Linked DNA regions of Homo sapiens: region 1 is linked to region 2. Evidence: promoter capture Hi-C in 16 types of primary human blood cells and fetal thymus (Javierre and others, 2016). All regions are on one chromosome and are shown on one strand. Each heading gives the region's core, a stretch centred on a gene start or on the middle of the fragment in contact. The rest is flanking DNA. Distances are from core to core; before and after follow the strand shown. Region 1 overlaps SNX29 (sorting nexin 29). Region 2 holds the start of CPPED1 (calcineurin like phosphoesterase domain containing 1).

What was found. Contacts are between HindIII fragments. The CHiCAGO score rates a contact against its expected background, and 5 or more counts as called.
Region 1: a contact is called between a fragment that was not itself captured here and the fragment with the promoter of CPPED1 in region 2, in 5 of 17 cell types (naive CD8 T cells, naive CD4 T cells, total CD4 T cells and 2 more). The highest score is 13.0, in naive CD8 T cells.

What each region holds. Positions count from the first base shown.
Region 1 is chr16:12,076,326-12,080,245 of GRCh38, reverse strand. It overlaps SNX29 (sorting nexin 29), which reads right to left. Exons shown (of 21, transcript NM_032167.5): 11 at 1,331-1,413. Among named protein-coding and RNA genes, the nearest start is that of SNX29, 100 kb to the right of the region's middle. The HindIII fragment of the contact is 4,146 bases long and covers 1-3,349 here.
Region 2 is chr16:12,801,985-12,805,872 of GRCh38, reverse strand. It overlaps CPPED1 (calcineurin like phosphoesterase domain containing 1), which reads left to right and starts at 1,986. Exons shown (of 4, transcript NM_018340.3): 1 at 1,986-2,166. The coding sequence starts at 2,097. RefSeq lists a silencer at 1,905-1,954 and enhancers at 2,035-2,404, 3,727-3,806. The HindIII fragment of the contact is 13,841 bases long and covers 1-3,888 here.

The DNA of each region.
Region 1 (3,920 bases), core at 27-2,526, 720 kb after region 2:
TTAGCAACAAAAACTAATTTCCTTTTTATCAAGAACAATTGCCCCCTCTGCAGCCAAGGGGGACCATGACATGAATGCTGGCCCAAGACACGAGTGGTATACTGTAAGCACCTTCTAGTGAAGGTCGGGGGAGCTTCAACGTTTTTGTACCAAGAGCCCATTTTGTAATCTAGGAATAACCATGGGCTCCTATTCAGGAAAATGTATTAAAATATATAAAACATACCATATCACAAAGGAAACCAATTACATCAAAATAGAATGATCATGATTGAAGAAAATACTATATTTCACCCAGAGCTAAATGAAAAACATTGTAATTTTTTTCCCTATCCAAGCTCAGGCCCCTGAATCCTATATGTAGAAATAGACGAAGTCTCTCTGCTCTCTCCTCCTTCCTGCCGCCTGGAATGAGAATGAAATGGCTGGAGCTAAAATGGCTATTTTGGTCTACAAGGCAAGACAGGAGGAGTCCCGGTCTCTGATGGCCGTGGAGCCACATACCAGCCCCAGCCCATCTACCTCTGGATAGAGAGAAATTTCCATCACATCTCCTTAACCACCGGAACTTCAAGAAGAGTAGGTCTGAATGGCTTTGTGTACAAAAAATAAACCAACTGTTGGTTTACATAGTGTCTGCTCACTTCCTGCTTCACCCTTGAATCAGAAAATGCTAGGTGCCTCCCAAACGCCTTCTTCCTTCCTTAGCAACAAAAGCTAATTTTTTTTTTTAATTGGGAACAAGTGCCCCCTCTGCCTCCAGGGGAGGCCATGGGACAAATGCTGGCTCAAGCCACCAGTGAGATACCAGGAGCACCCGTCAGTTTACATAACAGTTGGTTTATTCTTTGTTATACAAAGCCATTCAAACCTAGTCTTCCTTGCTATATCTCTAATACTTTTTCTAGGTAGTAAAGTTGGAAACAGTTGAAGCCTGATCATTAGCAAAGTTTAATCATCTTGGAGAGACATATTCTTCTTCACTTACAAAAATGAGTCCTTCAGAGTTACAAAGGAAATCCAACTAGAATAGGTCCTCTGTAGCTAACTGCATTATGGGAGGCAAACCCCAAAACCTGGAACCACAGAAGTCTACGGCAAGGCTGCTCCATCCTGAGGCACGCCCTTTAGCGCGCACACGCCCAAGCGCCACGCATTAACCACGGTTCTGGATATCCACAAGCACGTACCACACCTCCAGTCTACAACCAGGGACGTACACACCTGACGTGAACCCACAGTCACAGGGTTAGAAGCACAAAGGCACCGCCATGAGACGTGGGCCAGAAGTCATCCCAGAGCTGGTGGAGGGGGCTGCGAAAGTACTTACTAATTGTCATGGACTCTGGCACTGAGGCAGAAGGTAACAGGCTGCTCAGAGGACTTCCGTGGCCTGGAGAGCTGGCTTCCACACTAGGAAAAAGCAGGCAGGAGGAAGTTACACTCGGCCACTGAAAGTACACACCCTCACCATTCCAAAAACTAGCAGAGGTCGGTTTACTCCGGTACCTCTACTAGAAGGGATAGAGGCAGTCATTGGAAATTAGTCAGGCCTCGTTATCTGCAGATTCCGTATTTGGAAATTCATCTACGCACTAAAATTTATTTGTAACCCCAAAGTCAATACTTGAGGTGCTTTCACAATCATTCATGAACACGTGCAGAGGCCAATAATTTCACTCCCTAATGTGCATAATCTCAGCTGAAGTCGAACAGCTGGGACCTCAGATCTCACACCGTAAACAAGCATCCTCTTTGCTGTCTATTTACTGCCATGTTTTTAGCATTTTTTTTTCCACTTTTCTTTCTTTTGCGTGATCTCGGCTCACTGTAACCTCCACCTCCTGGGTTCAAGCGATTCTTGTGCCTCAGCCTCCCAAGTAGCTGGGATTACAGGCCCGCACCACCACACCCGACTAATTCTTGTATTTTTACTAGAAATGGGGTTTCGCCAAGTTGGCCAGACTGGTCTCAAAGTCCTGACCTCAAGTGATCCACCTGCCTCAGCCTCCCAAAGTGCTGGGATTACAGGCATGACCCACCACACCCGGCCTTTTTTTCCACTTGATTTTATTGTTTAAAATGTCCCCAAGCACAGTGCTGAAGTGGTACTGCCGACAGTTCCTAAGCACAGGAAGGCTGTGATGTGCCGTATGGAGATAATTTGTGAGTTAGAGATGCTTCATTCAGGCATGGCTTACAGTGCTGCTGGCTGTGAATTCAATGTTAATGAATCAACTGCATACATTAAACAAGGTGTCTTTAAACAGGAACAGACATAAAACCAGGTTATGTGTTGATCAGTTGATAAAAATGCTGTGACCAGGCCAGGTGTGGTGGCTCATGCCTGTAATCGCAATACTTTGGGAGGCCGAGGCGGGTGGATCACATGAGGTCAGGAGTTCGAGACCAGCCTGGCGAACATGGCAAAACCCCTTCTCTACTAAAAATACAAAAATTATCTGGGTGTGGTAGCACATGCCTGTAATCCCAGCTACTTGGGAGGCTGAGGCAGGAGAATCACTTCAACCCAGGAAACAGAGGTTGCAGTGAGCCAAGATCACGCCACTGCACTCCAGCCCCGGGCAAAAGAGCAACAGTTCATCTCAAAAACAAAATGTGTGACCAGAGCCTCAAAGCAACTTAACCATGTACTTCCCCTAGGAGCACTGGTTCAGTCTTCATAGCAACTTTATAGAATACAACTACTGGGAATAATAAGAATCAACTGTATGTTTACAAATAATTTACAACATGAAAAATAAAGTTTAGTGTCTTTGGTGAGAACAGCACGGTCATCACATGGTTAACAGAGATACACACACACACACACACACACACACACACACACACACACACCATGACTAGGAGGAAAAGTACCAAAACATCAACAACATAATGAAGTTGAGGGTTAAGACTGATTTTCTTTTTTCATTTACTGTTGCATTTTCCAATTTTTTTTTTTTTAAGACAGGTTCTCACTCCGTTAACTAGGCTGGAGTGCAGTGGTGCAATCTCAGCTCGCTGAAGGCTTGAACTCCTGGGTTCAAGTGATCTTCCCACATCAGTCTCCCAAGTAGCTGACACTACAGGCATGCACCACCACATCTGGATAATTTTTGTTGTTGTTTTATTTGTAAAGACAGGGTCTCACTTGCCCAGACTGGTGGTGTTGAACTCCCGGCCTCAAGTAATCCTCCCACCTTGGCCTCCCAAAGTGCTGAGATTACAGGCATGGGCCACCATGCCTAGTCACATTTTCTAAAATAAATAGCAAAAAAAGACTCCACCCCCTGGAAGGGTCTGGCAACACCAATTCCTTCTGACACTGAACTAACTGCGACAAGCTTCCTACAAGCAATGTCATTTTGAGAGAGCAGAACCCTTGACTGTTCCAGGTAAGACCATGGCATCTAATATGGTTTACGGTAGTCAGGAAGTTCCACTCTAGAGCTAGGTTTGAAAATAAGGATGTAATAGCACCCTGGGACCCCAAATTACAGCCAAGAGGAGAGACAGAAGAAGAAAACGGTAATAGCAGCAAGGATGGCAGTGGCATAAGACTTTGGTGTCCATTTCAGTTCTGCCACCAAGCATCCAGGGTCTCGCTTTGTCACCCAGGCTACATAAAAATGTTATGACCAGGCTGGGCGTGGTGGCTCACGCCTGGAATCCCAGCACTTTGGGAGGCCAAGGCAGGCGGATCACATGAGGTCAGGAGGTCGAGACCAGCCTAGCCAACATGGCGAAACTCCGTCTCTACTGAAAAATACAAAAATTAGCCGGGCATGGTGGTGGACATGTGTAATCCCAGGTACTTGGGAGGCTGAGGCAGGAGAATCACTTGAACCCAGGAGGCGGATGTTGCAGTGAGCCAAGATGGTGCCACTGCACTCCAGCCTGGGCGACAGAGTAAGACT
Region 2 (3,888 bases), core at 737-3,236:
CGGGTTCAAGTGATTCTCCTGCCTTAGCATCCCGAGTAGCTGGGACTACAGGCGTGCACCACCACACCCAGCTAATTTTTGTATTTTTAGTTGAGATGAGGTTTCACCATGTTGGCGAGGGTGGTCCCGATCTGTAGACCTCATGATCCGCCACCTCCACCTCCCAAAGTGCTGGCATTACAGGCCTGAACCATTGCGCCCGGCCTCCTTCACATTTCTTGGGACTCCTCCTCTGGGCCAGGCCATGTTCAGGGAATAGGGTTATAGTGATTGATTAATAATAACAATGGCTAATATTCATTGAGTACCTACCATTTGTTATTAGAACTATTATTCTAAGCACTTTGATACATGAACTCATTTAAGCCTTTCTGCAACCCTATGACCTAGATGCTACTATTGTTTCCATTTCACAGATAGGGAAACTGAGGCATAGAGAAACTATGCAATTTTCAAGAGCATACAACCAGTAAGTGGGTAGAACCGGGATTAATCCAAGCCCACTGACTCCAGGACTCATAGGCATTTATACTCTTAACCACTATGATTCATGGGTGACTCTTGTCAAGGATTAGAGAACAGTAGTTATGGCCATATTAGCTACTCAAACAGTGCTTTGGATGTAGGCAGCTAGTTTAGAAAAGAATTTCCCAAATTTGTAAGATCATAAGAGCTCCCCTGCAGTGCTTGTTAAAAACAGATCATTTTCAGGCCAGGCACTGTGGCTCATGCCTGTAATCCTAGCACTCTAGGAGGCCCGGGTGGGTGGATTGCTTGAGCTCAGGAGTTCCAGATCAGCCTGGGCAACATAGTCAAACTCGTCTCTACTAAAAATACAAAGTATTAGCCAGGCATGGTGGCGCACGCCAATAGTGCCAGCCACTTAGGAGGCTGAGGTGGGAGAATCACCTGAGCCCAGGAGATCGAGACTGCAGAGATTGTGCCACTGCACTCCAGCCTAGGCAACCAGAGTGAGACCCTGTCTCAAAACAACAACAACAACAACAAAACACAGATCATTTTCATAGAGATTTGGATTCAATAGGTCCATTCTGGAATTTGTATTTTCAACACGTTTGACAAATGCTGGCTAAGTAGTTCACTACAATGGCTCTTGAGTTGAAGAGACACTAATTTGGTTACTCGCAGCTTTACTACCTCTCTAGATGTGTGTCACCTTGTGCAAGTTCGTTCATCTCTCTGAGCGTCAGTTTCCCCAAATGACGGATGCAGCTAATAACAGCACCACCTCCTAGGGCTGTAGTGGGGATTAAGTGAGCAGCGTGCAAAGTGCTTAGCGCCCTGCCTGGTGCATAGCAAGCAAAGATAATAACAGAAAGATGGTGGCAGCCACTGGGAAGTTCAGGCTGAGACAGTCTTCCAAGACGTCCACCTTTTCATCTTTTTTTTTTTTTTTTTTGTATTGGCAAGGTCTCTCGCCGTGTTGCCCAGGCTGGTCTCCAACACCTGGACTCAAGCGATCCTCCCTCCTTGGCCTCCCAAAGAGCTGGGGTTACAGGCGTAAGCCACCCCAGTGGCTCCTTCTGACTTTATGATAGAGTTGTCAGATAAAAAAAAATCAGGACGCTTCCATTCAAACCTGCAAAAAGAGAAAAATTTAAAAAAATTAGGACGCCCAGTTCAATTGGAATTTCAGATAATGAAAAAAAAATTTAACGTAAGTAGCTCCCAAATACTGCATAGGACATATTTATACCAAGTCAGTCATTCTTTAAAAAAAAAAATCTGAAATTCCAATTTAACCGGGAGTCCTGCATTTTTACTTGTTAAATCTAGTAACTCTGCCTTTAGGGAAGGACTGACCCCAAAGCCTTATCCCCGCCCACGCGTGCCCTAGACAGTCTCCACTCGCCAGGCGCGCAGGTCGATCCCAGAGGGGCCGCTGGCGCCTCCGCTCCGCCCAGGCAGCACTAGTGGCGCCCCGAGCCACCGGGCCCCTCCCCGTCCCGCCCCAGTCCCGCCCCGAGATCAAAGGGCGTCGCCCAAAGCGGGACAGGTCCAGCGGTTGTTCTGTGTGAAGTCGCGCGGCTTCCACCCACGCAGTGTTCTAAGTGAAGGCCAGAAACTCGCTCGCCATGTCGGCTGCAGAGGCGGGGGGTGTTTTCCACAGAGCCAGGGGCAGGACCCTGGCCGCGTTTCCCGCAGGTACTGCCCGCCCCTCACCCGGGGAGGGGACTCTGGGGCTGCGGAACCTTCCGCCGGGGGAACCTTTTGTTCAGGTGTGCGCTCCGCCAGTCGGACACCATCCGGGGCTGCACCGGGGCCTGGGAGCCGCCATAGCTGCATCAAAGCCTGCTCTTAGGGATTCCAGGGGCGCAGTTGAGAGGCGAGGCCGAGAGAGCGATCTGGTCTAGGAGCCTCCTTGGCCTTGACCTAACTTCCCCCAGAGAAGGGAAGTAAGAGGAGGGTAGCAAAGCATAGTTAATGACAGCTTGGACTCTGCAGCGAGACCTGGTTTCCAAGCTGTGCATTAGCATCTTGGCCTCAGCTTCCACATCTGTGAAACGGGAATACTTGTGGGTGTTACTGGATAAGCGTTCGGTGCATGTTAGAGGGTGTCGGTTTTATTAAGGTTGTTCACCGTTATGTATTCTGTACTCCATAATGACGTTTATTTAAGTCATTCACCGAAATGGTAACACTGCCCCATCAGAGCAGTAGAGAGGGAGGGCATTCGAGAGTCGTAGTGAAGTGCTTGGATTTTGGATTTAGATTATCTGCTTTGCCTTAAAAATGGGTTTGATAATACCTGCCTCATAGGGTTGTTGGAAGCGTAAACAGATCAAAAGTATTTTTGTAACCCGGTGTTGGACGCATGCTAGGTGCTAAGTAAAGAGGGAGGTTTGTTTCTGGTTTGTTGATTCCCCTCTGTGGCTTTTTGCTGCCTGCAGCCAGATCGCCTCCCAGGCTCTCACCAGCTTTATACCCCCAGGGAAGTCACCCTAAATGCCCTATATGATCAGGCTTGTGTCCACTTCCTTCAGGGTTGTCATTCTCTCTCTTGCCCAGTTCTGCAACAGGTTTTGTTGTTGCCCTTGTTTGAACTGCATTTAAAAGGGCCAAGGCCGTTCTTTCCCTGAGGGTCTTGGCGCTTGCTGTTTTCTGCTTCTTTAGCAGGGTTGGTGAGCCTGGCTCTCTCAACCGTCACACCTCATTTTAAAGTTCATTCACTTCCTCAGAGACTTTACCTGCTACCTTATCTAAAGTAGGTTTCTCCGGTAATTCTATGGTAAAACCTTATTTATTCATTTAAGGCGGAGTCTTGCTTTATTGCCCAGGCTGGAGTGCAGTGGCACGATCTTGGCTCACTGTAACCTCCGCCTCCCGGGTTCAAGCGATTCTCCTGCCTCAGCCTCTGGAGTAGCTGGAACTATAGGCACGCACCACCACGCCCGGCTAATTTTGTATTTTTAGTAGAGATGGGGTTTCTCCATGTTGGCCAGGCTGGTCTCGAACTCACAACATCAGGTGATCCGCCGTCCTCAGCCTCCTAAAGTGCTGGGATTACAGACCTGAGCCACCGCGCCCGGCCTGGGACGACTGTATTTTAATGGACCTTGTCTTTTTTGTCCAACATGAAGATTTTGCTCTTTTCTTGCTGGGCAACATTCCATTGGATGATTATATACCTTATACATTCTGTTGATGTATATGCTGAATATCTTCCCTTTGCCTCTCCAAACCTTTCTCCCTTCCCCACCATGCCCCAGGGGTTTGCCCTCCGTGAGCTACATCGGTGGGCTCCTTGCCTTTTGGTTTTCCTTTGGGCTCAGCCAGTGGGGAGCCCTGAGAAGAAATCAGAGCAGGGAGAGAAGCAAAAGGCAGCTGTATTTATTCTTGCAGTTTACTCTGTGGGGTTGCCTCGCC